2 separate regions of the Homo sapiens genome follow, and region 1 is linked to region 2. The links are contacts of gene promoters, found by promoter capture Hi-C in human tissues and cell types (Jung and others, 2019). All regions are on one chromosome and are shown on one strand. The core of a region is centred on a gene start or on the middle of the fragment in contact, and the rest is flanking DNA. Distances in the headings are between cores, read along the strand shown.

Evidence for each region. Contacts are between HindIII fragments. The study calls those that stand out against the background at their distance.
Region 1: a contact is called between a fragment that was not itself captured here and the fragment with the promoter of VWA3B in region 2, in 1 of the 25 tissues and cell types used here (pancreas).

What each region holds. Positions count from the first base shown.
Region 1 is chr2:98,047,734-98,054,189 of GRCh38, forward strand. LOC105373501 (a long non-coding RNA gene) reads right to left here and starts at 4,666. Exons shown (of 3, transcript XR_923092.3): 1 at 4,557-4,666; 2 at 1,018-1,259. RefSeq lists enhancers at 1-76, 77-577, 6,422-6,456. The HindIII fragment of the contact is 3,926 bases long and covers 1,394-5,319 here.
Region 2 is chr2:98,082,085-98,088,549 of GRCh38, forward strand. VWA3B (von Willebrand factor A domain containing 3B) reads left to right here and starts at 5,083. Exons shown (of 28, transcript NM_144992.5): 1 at 5,083-5,279. RefSeq lists enhancers at 4,811-5,311, 5,208-5,277, 5,312-5,812. The HindIII fragment of the contact is 7,495 bases long and covers 204-6,465 here.

The sequences.
Region 1 (6,456 bases), core at 2,107-4,606, 36 kb before region 2:
AGCCACCGCGCCTTGCCTTGCCTTGCCTTGCCTTGCCTTTCCTTTCCTTTCCTTTCCTTTCCTTTCCTTTCTTTTCCTTTCCTTTCCTGTCCTGTCCTGTCTTTTCCTTTCCTTTCCTTTCCTTTCCTTTCCTTTCCTTTCCTTTCTTTTCCTTTCCTTTCCTGTCCTGTCCTGTCTTTTCCTTTCCTTTCCTTTCTTTTCCTTTCCTTTCCTGTCCTGTCCTGTCTTTTCCTTTCCTTTCCTTTTTCCTTTCCTTTCCTTTCCTTTTCTTTCTTCCTTCCTTCCTTCCTTTCTTGTTTTTTGAGATGGAGTTTTGCTCTTGTTTCCCAGGCTGGAGTGCAATGGCACGATCTCGTCTCACCACAACCTCCGCCTCCCAGGTTCAAGCAATTCTCCTGCCTCAGCCTCCTGAGTAGCTGGGATTACAGCAATGCGCCACCACGCTAGGCTAATTGTGTATTTTTAGTGGAGACAGGGTTTCTCCCTGTTGGTCAGGCTGGTCTTCAACTCCCGACCTCAGGTGATCCACCCGCCTCGGCCTCCCAAAGTACTAGGATTACAGGTTCGAGCCACCACACCCGGCCTTGAACTTTTCATTGTCGGCTGCAATGAGTGGGCGTTTTCTCTGGCTTCCCTGAGCTCTTCACCTTCCCCACCCTACCACAGGTAATACTTTCCTTCTCTACTTTTCCTTTCCTATATTTTCTGTCACTCAGGGTGACCATCTTGCCCAGAGACCATATGTTGATACTCCAAGTCGGAGGTTGGATTAAAGATGATGGGACTCATCTGGGGGAAAATTTAAGCCTTGCCAGTTTGATATTGGGTGCTAAGCAGAGTGGCTAATGTCTGTGTTTTATCACATGTATTTTGCTCTGGCCAGAATGAAAAAAAAAAATTCCTTTATAATGTGGCTTGGCCCCAGGGTGATGGTGCCACAAGCTGGATCACTAGGACTGCTCAGAGAAAGAGAACCCAGAAGATTGGCATGCCGGCAAAAGGGTAAAAATTTCTTACCAGTCAGATTTCTGACTTCTCTCTGTGGGAACGATTGAAGGAATGGTAAAACAAATCTCTTCTGTTTGGATTAATGCAAAAAAGAATTCTAAGGCTAGTCTTAAACTGGTGTACTTTGTGCTATGAATTCGTTTTTCTTGTCGAGGGGAACTTCAGGATAAAACATGGGCTTAGAACACCTGTAAGCCCGCTTTTCAAGACAACTCAGCAAGCTGGTCCGTAACGAACTTGGCTGCAGGTCCCTGAAACAAACAAAAAACAACTGGATGAAGTTTCCACCTTATTTTATGTCCTTGGGAGCTTGACCTTTTAACCACATGGCGGTACTTTCTCTTGGTCTCTGCCTTCCAGGGAACAGAAATTTTAGGGTTCATGTCATAGTTAGTGCTAAAAATCATATTAAAAAGTTAAAAGCCTTTACAAGCTCAAAATTAACTACTCTAGACTCCGTCTGGGGAAGGAAACAGAGGCTGTCCCATGCTGCACCTCTGTTGCTAAGGTTTTGCGCTTTCACAGTAGCGGTCCAGGTTCAATTCCCCACCTAGGAAGTAAGTCGTTTCTGGTTTAATACCTGCATGACCTTGTCTATTCTCTTCTCCTCTGTGGACTGTCTTAAATTTTCCTTTCTCTAAGCACCTGGGAGGTTACCTTTGGTAAAGTTCAAAAGTCAGAAATATCGGCCGTTTGGCATAAGAAATTCTAAAAGGACTTTATTAAAGAGTGCTATGGTTAAAATCAGTACTATTAAAAGCGGATAGTTAAACTCTAACAGCCTAGACTCCTTGGGAAAAACAGGAGGAAACAGAGACCACTTTCCTGGCCCTGTTCTTCCGGGGGCTCCATCCTAAAGCCAGTAATCCAATGAAGAAACTTAAAAACTGGCAAATGAAAAATTTTACAACTACTGTAGTATAATCTTCTGTCTTTCTTGTAGCTACATATGTGTTGTGTGTAATGTTTATATATAAGAGCTCTAATTAATTGGCTGAAACAAAAATAAGCACTTACATCAAATATTTTAAAAGCAAAATAGAAACTGTAATGCCTTTTAGTTCATATAACTTTAGTAATCTTTGGGAAAAACAGCTTTTAAAATTATTGTTAAAATAAAAACATTTAGTCTAAATTATGCAGGTCAGATATTAAGTTTGCTAAAGGCTTTAAGGTCATAAACTGCTGCTTTAACTTTTCCAAAATTGTTCAATTTACCTACCTTAAAGCCATGAGGTTCTAGATAAGGCCTGGGGACATGTGGAATTAGCCATGCCCCTTTGCTATACAAAGAAGATTATTAAGAAAGGGATTTTATGTAAGAAAGGATCTTGTATGGGAAATTCTTGTCCTAAAGTAAAATGACTGGTTGTCTAACAGGAGGGATGTTTAGGGCAGGTCAGAAAGTCCAATAATATCTCAGATGGTCTGTGTAAGTCATGAAAGGATTTGTGAAAGGGAATTTATGCAAGAAATGTCATACAATTCAAAGGTTGTTAAGCCTTGTAAATGCTTCATAAAATGCCACTATGACTCTTGCTGTACAACTTGCCTGCTTTATAGCTAGGTAAGGCCTGGGGACATGTGGAGTTAGTCATGCAACCTAGCTATGCTGGAGAGTCAGCTCTTATCTACACTTCTGTCTGGTGTGTCCTAGGCTAGGCGCCACACCTTGTATATAATTAAAATCCCGAACTTACCAAGTTTTTCACCAAAAATAAAAGTTGCTAAAAGTTAACGTTATAATATGTAACTAAAACTACTAAAAAAAATTTTACATGCAAGGTGTGTAAAGAAAGTAAAATGTGTTTTTGGCGAAAGATTACAAGAAGGCATGGGAATGTGCATTTTTTTTGCCTAAGGGGTTAAAGAATTGTTTTAAGTTAGAATAAAGGTTTGAACAATTGTGGAGGGTTTGTAGAAAATTAATTGTAAAAGAGATTCTGTGTGTGGACATTGGCTAAATTAAAGGAGTATTATTCAGTTTTTCTATAAATTAAAAATTGGAATAAAAGCACAACAGATTTTTCTTAGAGCAAAAACCTGCTTATGATCTGCTATTTAACAAAAACTTGTAAAGGGTTATAAAAGGTTTATAAGAATCTTACCTTATGGTCAAACTGATTAAGATTGGATCGATATATTTATAAGGTTTTATTAAGAATTGGGTTTGACATTGATAATGCACTAATGCAACAGTGACATTTGGCTTATTTGGTACAAAAATCATACAGGGAGCATTGTCAAATATAAAATGGTGTTTGGTTTTCTTTGGGCCATATTTGTATAAATATGTTATTGGTATATATATTCCAAAATCATGGGAAACTCTTATAATTCTGATATGACTTAGTGTACATTATCAGTAATAATGATAATCGTTACATAAAATCATTGTATGCCATGGAGGTAACAAATTTCCTTGTCAATTGTTTCTTTGATCGTGGCTCCCCTAAAACATTTTGTCAGCCATAGACAATTGTTACCTGGTTTTTTTTCTTTTTGAGACAAAGTTTCTCTCTTGTTGCCCAGGCTGGAGCGCAATGGCGCAATCTCAGCTTACTGCAACCTCTGCTTCCTGGTTTCAAGTGATTCTCCTGCCTCAGCCTCCTGAGTAGCTGGGATTACAGGTGCCCACCACCATGCTCAGCTAGTTTTTGTATTTTTAGTAGAGATGAGGTTTCGCCATGGTGGTCAGGCTGGTCTTGAACTCCTGACCTCAGGTGATCCAACTGCCTCGGCCTCCCAAAGTGCTGGGATAACAGGTGTGAGCCACTGTGCCTGGCCCAATCGTTACCTCGTTTTAATCCTCTTTAAAAGGTGATTTATAATCAATTATAGAACTCTAATAGGTGTTCTTAAATGCAGGTTTTCTGATAACTTTGGAGATTGTGTCATCAGAATAAAGGAAAAAACTTTCAGAACTCTAATGGAGAACTGAAATATTCATAACTATCAAACAGAAGTTAACTATATGGACTAAACTGAAGAAGTCTAATCTTTTTAACTTTGCTTAAAACATTGCTGATCCTTTGTTTTGTTTTTCAGAGTCAAGGAAACTTTTCTTTTGAGCTATTTACAGCTTTTAACAGTTGAGTGTACTCCTATGAACAGAATTTGGAGCATATTTATTTTTATTTCTTTGTATTTAATTTCTCTAAAATTTGGAAACTGTTTGTAAGTATTCTTAACTTATGGCAATATAGTTATTTGCATAGGTGCAATAAAAATCCGTTTTCTTTTGTAACAGGACACAACGGGAGACATTGGTTATTTTGCTAAGGCTTTGACTGGAACAGCATGTTTTCCTTTAGGGTATTAAACCTAACATATAGAGCCAATAAAAGCCCCCTGGGGGACTGGCCTCATACCTTGCCTAAAACAGTCTCTGTGCAGAATTTCTAACCTGTGGTGAGTAAAGAATGTCACTTTCTGACAGGTCATGGAGCCCCAAGTTATCTTGTGACCTCGAGAGGAAAAAAATTTACCCAACTCAGGTATTTGAGGGTGCAAACCCATGGCTGGGCTCGGCTGTAAAATAGTCTTACCTGAGGCAGAGCAAAGTGGATCCCAGCAGTTTGGGAGGCCGAGGTGGGCACATCACTGGAAGTCAGGAATTTGAGACCAGCCTGGCCAATATGGTGAAACGCTGTCTCTACTAAAAGCATAGAAAAAAAATTAGCTGGGCATGGTGGCAGGGCCTGTAATCCCAGCAACCCGGGAGGCTGAAACAGGAGAATCACTTGAACCCAGGAGGTGGAGGTTCTGGTGAGCCGAGATAGCACCACTGCACTCCAGTCTGGGCGACAGAGCGAGACTCTGTCTCAATTTAAAAAAAAGAAGTCTTATCTGAAATTCCTTCTATGGAATAGAGTTCAAAGCCAATTTAAAATGAGCTTATGTGAAAAATAATTATTCTTGCTGTACAAATAATCAGGCCAAGTATAATAAAGCAAATCGGTCTTACCATGATTTGTCTTTAGTAAAAATAGGAAACTGGAGAGAGAAATATTACATTTCAAAAACTGGTATACTTTGTATTAGATTCTAGTCTTATCAGTTGTTTTTAAGTTTGTTTCTGCAATTTAGTCTAACACTGCATATTCCTGTGAACCAACCACTGATGTCTAACTGCTGCTCAGAAGAAACAAGAGAGATGGGTAATGCAAAAATCTGGATCAGTATTCTAATTCTGGGCACATTACAATCAGCTAACAACCCCATATCAGCTTAGTTCCAACAGTTGCCCAGTTCATGAAAAGCTTTCTAATTTAGTTTACTTGGAATAACTTTACTTATTTTCCTTTACTCTTGTGAAATATATTGCTGTTATACTCTTTGTGTAGGAATACAGGACAAGCTTACTAAATGTTTTCTTAAATTAAACACTTATTAATTTTCCAAATACTCTTTGTGTAGGAATACAGGACAAACTTACTGAATGCTTTCTTAAATTAAACATTTATTAATCTTCCAAATATCACCTTTTGTTGAAACTCAAAAGTTATAAATGGACCTTACCATACTAATGCTTTCTGACTGAGCTCCTCTCTACCCTGAATGCAAGAGGCCCTCATAGTTAGGCAGGAATATCATTGCCCCTATTCAGCATGAAGAAGTTACAGAAGACGGATCTTTATGCCTCTGCAAGCCTTAGGATTAAGGGTTTATAAAAAGGGTGGGGGGAAATGTCAGAGGTGTGTGAACCAGAGCAACTCCATCTGAAATAGGAGCTGGGTAAAATGAGGCTGAACCTACTGGGCTGCATTCCTAGAGAGTTAAGGCATTCTAAGTCACAGGATGAGACAGGAGGTCGTCACAAAATACAGGTCATAAAGACCTTGCTGATAAAACAGGATGCAGTAAAGGAGCCAGCCAAATCCCACCAAAACCAAAACGGCCACGAGAGTGACCTCTGGTTGTCCTCACTGCTACACTCCCACCAGCACCATGACAGTTTACAAACGCCATGGCAATGTCAGGAGGTTACCCTATATGTTCTAAAGAGGGGAGACATGAATAATCCACCCTTTGTTTAGCATATCATCAAGAAATAACCATAAAAATGGTCAACCAGCAGCCCTCAGGGTTGCTCTGTCTATGGAGTAGCCGTTCTTTTATTTCTTTCCTTTTATTACTTTCTTAATAAACTTGCTTTCACTTTGCACTGCGGACTTGTCCTGAATTCTTTCTTGTGTGAGATCCAAGAACCCTCTCTTGGGATCTGGATCAGGACCCCTTTCCTGTAACAAGGGGATAAGATTCAACCTATTAAGACTGGAGTGGTGACATTAATTTCAGACAGAGCTGACTTCAGAGCAAGGAAAATTATCAGGAATAAAGACAAACTTACATAATAACAAAATGGCCAACTCTCTAAGAAGAAAGAACAATCCTTAATGTGTTCACCGATTATGAAATTGATAAGTTAAATAATTCTATAAATGT
Region 2 (6,465 bases), core at 3,833-6,332:
GTTGTGTTCAGCACAATGGAAAGCAGCTGCGTCTGCAACGCCTTCTGGCTGTTATGCTCCGAGAACCTAAGCCTTGGATTAACACGGCAGAGAAAAATGCCCACTGCTCAGGGACTATCCCATGTTCTCCAAACTTCCCCATTTCCTGGTAATTAGGTGGGGGTCATGTGACTTGTTTTGGCTAATGGGCTGTGGGTAGAAGTAAACATGTGAATATATCAATATAATTGCGTGTATGTGTTGATGTAAAATGCAATGTCCTGCACATACACTCTGCAACTTTATTTTAAGGAAATACTTAACCTTGGAGACATTTCTATATTATTATACATAAGTTTATCTTTTTATTTTAAACTGTTATCATATCACAATAAGAATATAGCATAATTTCAATGACTCCCTTCTTGTTGGACATTTAGATGCTTTCCATTATTTTGCAATGATAAAAACACTTCTGTGTGTTTTCTAGGAAACCTAGAAATGAAATTGTTTGGCAGAAAGGTATCTATTTTTACAAATTAAAAAAAAATCATTCTTTTAAACATATTTCATTGAATTCAATTTGTTGGAATTTTTACCCAGCATTTTTACAATTATATTAATCAGTGAGAATGTTCTAAGTTTTTTTTTTTTTTTTTTTTTTTGAGGCAGATGTCGCTCTGTTGCCCAGGATGGAGTGCAGTGGCATGATCTTGGCTCACTGCAACCTCCGTCTCTCAGGTTCAAGTGATTCTCCTGCCTCAGCCTCCCAAGTAGCTGGGATTACAGGTGCCTGCACAAAGCCCCGCTAATTTTTTGTATTTTTAGTAGAGACGGGTTTCACCATGTTAGTCAGGCTAGCCTCGAACTCCTGACCTCATGATCCGCCTACCTCGGCCTCCCAAAGTGCTGGGATTACAGGTGTGAGCCACCGTGCCCAGCCCTAATTCTTTTAATGTTAAACTCTTTCTTGCTTTCCTCTCTCTTCTTCACTCCTCAAGAGGGGGGAACACTGACATAATTGGATGAGATTCCAGGATGTTGATGGTGCCAAGTTTATGAGCTACAAACCCTTGTGTGGCTCTCCCTTTGGTACTTTGCTCTTTCTCCAGGGAGAAAGGAGGACAAACAAACTGGAGCTGATCTCTTATTATGGACAGAACCTGTCATCTCTCTTCCTCCCTCGTAAGCAGTGTTGCTCATTCACCCTCCCAATCTTGGCAAGGAGCTGGTGGAAAGATCTGAGTGTAGAAGGGAGAAAGGCTCCAGCTTAGTGCCCAACTCCTGTGCCCACATAGCCAGGTCACCCCGCACTAGAGTTAGAGGCACTTAAAGTAAGGAAATTCCTTATCTCCTTCTGCCATTGTCTATCGTGCTGCTCATCTTCAGGAACTGCAGAAAGATGATGACCACACCAAGGCAAGACTGAGTCCATTCCTGAATATCATTCCTGTAAGATCAAAATCTCATTCTAAGAGTATTGTCTTTGCTAGGTTTTAGTATCAGTAACTATTTTGAAGAGTGATTTGAAATTTCCAAATATTTGAGAGTTTTTGTTTATATAAAATATTTTTGTTCAGTTTTTCTTAATTTGCTGTGGGGATATGTTAGTACCCTACAAGGCATCCAGCTTTTAAAATAATGCCACATTACAAAGGAATTGGTTAACAAGAAGTGTAGGGGGGAAGGGTAATTTTTTTTTTTTTTTTTTTGAGACGGAGTGTCACTCTGTTGCCCAGGCTGGAGTGCAATGGCACAATCTCGGCTCACTGCAACCTCTGCCTCCCAGGTTCAAGTGATTCTCCCGCCTCAGCCTTCCAAGTGGCTGGGATTACAGGCACCCGCCATCATGCCCAGCTAATTTTTGTATTTTTGTAGAGACAGGATTTCACCATGTTGGCCAGGCTGTTCTTGAACTCCTGACCTCAGGTGATCTGCCCACCTTGGCCTCCCAAAGTGTTAGGGTTACAGGCGTGAGCCACGGTGCCTGGCCGGGGAGGGTAATTTAAAAACAGACCTGCTTTATGCCATTTAAAATGGGAATATGTCTTGTTAAAAACACATTTAAATCCAGGGAGGTTTCTCTGTGCCATTAGTATCAAGCACTAAATGAACACTGTATGACTGAGATGACAGAAATTTCCTCTTGGAGAAAATTGAAGCCAACAGTTGATCAACACAGCATATAATTAACAGGGCAGGGTGTGGAGTCAGGCTGCCTGGGTTCAAATTCCGGAACCACCATTGAGTGGCCTTGGAGAAATAGCTTAATATTCTGTCTCAGTTTACTTATCTAGAAAATGGACATAATTATGATGTCTCCCTCAAAGAGCTTTTCTAAGTATTAAATGATGTAATATATTTAAAGAGGTTAGAACATGGTCTGACATTCAATACATTCTAGCTATGATTAAGTGTTAATTCAGTCTGGTAAAAGTGAACGTAGTCTTTGCCAAGGGTAGTAAAAAAGCTCTGACCCTCATCAAAGATGTTAGATTGAGAGCCAGGAGTCTACATTCATTGTCCCAAATAATGAATGCTGAACTCAAGAACATCACAGCATAGAGAAACCTCTGTTTGAGCTCTACCTCCCCGTGATGGCCCCTGTCCCCACCTACCTCTCCCAAGGCTGCCCCTGATGGCGAAAACTCCCTTCACCACAAGAGCTAACAAAGGTTCAGCAGGAACTGCCTCACTCTCTCAGTTTCTCCTTCCTCTTCAGAGGGAGTGCCTCTGTTTTAATTCCAGCTCAGGTTCTTTCTCACACATATATACAAGGAGTTAACATTCTCCGTCTCCTCTGGTTCCAGTTTTTGCAGTGGGCTTAGGAAAATGCTTTTCCTCCCTTCATTTCCTTTATCACCCTCCCTCCTCCACCAAACATTCTGATCATGGCCATAAGCCCAAGCAGTGGCAGTGATAGACTTGTATAAAGAAAAGGAAAACCCATTGAACCTGAAAAGTAAACAGCACAAAGGTCAAATAACAACGAAAGGCTTGTCAAAGGCTTGTACATGGTTGCCAAGAGTGTGGTACTGGCAAGCAATGCTTTGAGACTGTACAGGTAGAGAGAAGTTATTAGGGCCGCAGCATCCATGGGAGGGCTTTGGGGAGAGAGAGAAGAGCTAGAGCTGACCCTGAAGGGACGGTGATTCCCAAACTGTGGTAATCTGGGTGGCCTGAGTAAAGTCATCTGTGCTCAGAGGCAGGGACCAGGTGGGTCTCTCTGGGATGGGGGTTTGTGTTGGAGGCAATGAGCAAAAGTCTGAAAGTATAATTTGAGCCCTTAATGGTAAAGTCCAGAAGTTTGACATCAAAGATGGCAGTGATTTGATCAATGTCGCTTACTGAGGTTTAAGGAAAGATACAAATTATCTGTAAAAATGTAAACTCAAAACAAATTTGTCAAAAGTTCAGTATAGTAGTGTATCACCACTGTGCTAAAGGTTTTCTTATTTCAAATAACTCAATAAAAATGAGGCAAACCATTCTGTAACTAGCTAAACTGAAGTCCATACCAACTATTTAATGCTTCAAAATAACCTTAAACTTCTACTCACTTATCATTCTACAATTTAAGTAAGTAATGTTTCACATTTTCAACAGAATGTATGCTTATAGACACATAAACACGAAAGATAGGGACAGATCATCTTGGTGACTTGCACGTATGTGGCAAGTGTCCTAGGGAAAGGAGCAGGCATGGGGTGAAGGTGGGAACAAGAGTGCCTGGCGTGACCATGTGAGGCAGGGCATTTGGCTATGTGTTGCTGTGTGCTCTGTCTCACCCCCGTGACCCAAGAATATTAGTGTGGCAGGGTGTGGACAGCAAGGATTAATGGGTCATTGGCAAACATGGGCGAGGCTGGTGTTTTACTCCCTTCTGAACAGTCTTCAGTACTATCAAGCTTTTGCTTGTTTTTTGGTGGTGTGGATGGCAGGTTTCATTTGCAGGGCCAAATATATATAAACTAATAACTGCCAGGAATGATTTGTGATATGGAATGAAATCTTTCAGTACTTTTTAAATGATAGAGGCATTAAAAGAATGCAGGAGAAATAAATTCCTGTGGATGAAGCAGACTTTTTTTGGGGGGACAGAATTACTCAGTTCTAACATTAACTATGTTTTATTAGTTCTTTGAAAAACCTGCAAATGATCTGGTCAGTTCTATAATTTTAAAATCTAAAATCGTTTACTATCCCAATACCCTAAAAACAATACTTACTGTGGGGTCTTTTATTAAGACTTTAAAGATACTTTTCATAAGCACAATTTTATTTCCTGGTGACTGGAAAAATAGGAAAATATTTAGAGCCTTTTGCTTAATTGATAAGGTAACACTGAAACAAAGGTTAAAAACAAAGCTGAATGGAGAAAATAATGCCTATAGAAATATTCATGTCAAACAGGTAAGAATATTCTTGGCAACTGCAGCCCCTGCCTCCACAATTGCAAAATTGCAGCTCCCTGTCCCTTCTGTCTGTCTCAGCTCCGCCCACGTCCAGTGGCTGAGCTACAACGAACTGCCCCACCTCTTTTAAAGCGTCTTTCTCTGAACTGTGCAAGGAAGAGAGCATCGCCTGACAGTGGTGAGGTGAAAATTAAAACTACACAGGGGTCAATGCTCTGCTGAAAAGTATGAAAAGAAGTTCGTTTGTAGCGTTTCCCGCAGTCTCCTCGCCTCTCCTCGGCCTCTGGCGCCTTCCTCCCCTGTCTGCTCGCACCCTATATTTCTACCCCAGCTCATCAGTGTATTTGTTTGTTAATTCATTCATTCTTTCATTCATATTCTCCGCTGTTGTTAATTTTCCCATTGACAGTAGGCGCAAGGGGCAACGCCACTCGCCCTGTCCCTCTAGCGTGGCCTCTGTTTGGGGGTCTGGGGTGGAGGTCGTCCCGGCCCGGGTGGTTCCGGACGCCGGCTTTCCGCACCTGGCTCGGTGACGGCCTCGGCGCCCCGCCCTCTTGGCCACGGTCCGCAGCCATCGCCCCAGTGAGGGCGCGGTCTGTGGGCGGGGCCGGCTCCAGGAGCCGCGCTGTGATTGGCCGTGTCCAGGCAACCGCGGAGACGCCGTCGTCAACAGACCGCGCTCGGAACCAGAGGCGCGGGTCACAGAGACCTAGAACAGCTGGAATCCTTCGCCCCCGGCGCGCAGCCTTCGCCCGCCGGAATCGCTGCCTTATCCACCAGCGGGATGCTTACCTCGCCCGCCCTCTCGGGTCAGGCGGGCCCGGGAGGATGGGAGGGTGGCTGCTGAGCGGGAGCCGCCACGTCTTCCACCCGACATATTGCCTAGTAAGTGTGGGAGCGATGCCTGCCGCACGAGAGCCGCCGAGGTGCCGAGCCTTCCAACAAGCGGCCTAGGGAGGTCTTGGAAAAATGCCATTTCTGAGGTGGACTACACGCCCACTTTACAGATGCGGAAACAGTACCAGGAAAGCTCGGTGACTTGCCCTGGCCCACTTAATCGTCCGCTACCCAGGGCAAGCCGAGGGTCAAGGTACCGACCCCTCCTACTCTAGAGCTCTTTCCATCACACCTCACCCGAGCCCACGCCCAGCCGCTCTGGTGGAAAAGCGGTTTTCCTAGTTTCTGTCTATGCCATAGGCCAGCAGTTCAAGGTGATGAAGTCCACCTGGGCTTTGGAGGGAACATGGGAACCAGAAGAAACACATTTCCTGAACATAAGGATAAATATGTATAGTCTAAAAGCCAAAGCAACACTTACATGGTTTCACAATCATATCAGTTTCTTTCACCCTCCTTATATGGAAATAAGACTTAATAAGTAGATTTAGTTTCCATTTGGTAGAGCTTTTCCTTTCATTTTCTTGGAAGCTCTGTTTCTTCTCAGCAATGACCTTCCTCCTAAAGCACTCCAATTATTCTCAGATATTGCCTTCTTGACTATTTTCTCAACGGTGGGACAGTCCGTTTCAATATCCTTGTCTCTGTCCACATTATTTGAGCCAATGATCACAGCCAAGCCTTGTCCCTTAAGGGCAGAAAAAATGGGAGGAGGTTTAAGGGTTTCTGGGGAAGAGTTGCATCAGGATCCATCATGAAGCTTCGTCCCAGTTTCCTTTCTTCCTGGAAAAATCATCGTTCACAAATTCACCTAAATCACAAGATATATATCCACCTAGCCCAGACTTCTTTTTCAGAAACTAACAGGGGTATAGGAAGTTTGGGGTGTTGATAATAAAGTAGCTAGAAGCTTATTGAATGTCTAAACTGGATTAATGGACTCTCAACCCTGCACTGTCCCTGAACCTCCGAGCACATAGGACCTTTTCTCTGAGGGCATGCTGACTTCACAAGACTGTCGCCCAGGGCAGCCCAGGAGCATCTGCTTCCAGTAGACGGGGCCCTTGTACAGTTGCCAGCTTAACCTTTCTATTTTCCCCAAAGCTTTGCCTGCCCACATTTTCAGCTCAGACTTTCACTTCCTTGTTTTTCCTTTTACACTTCCTCCTTCTTC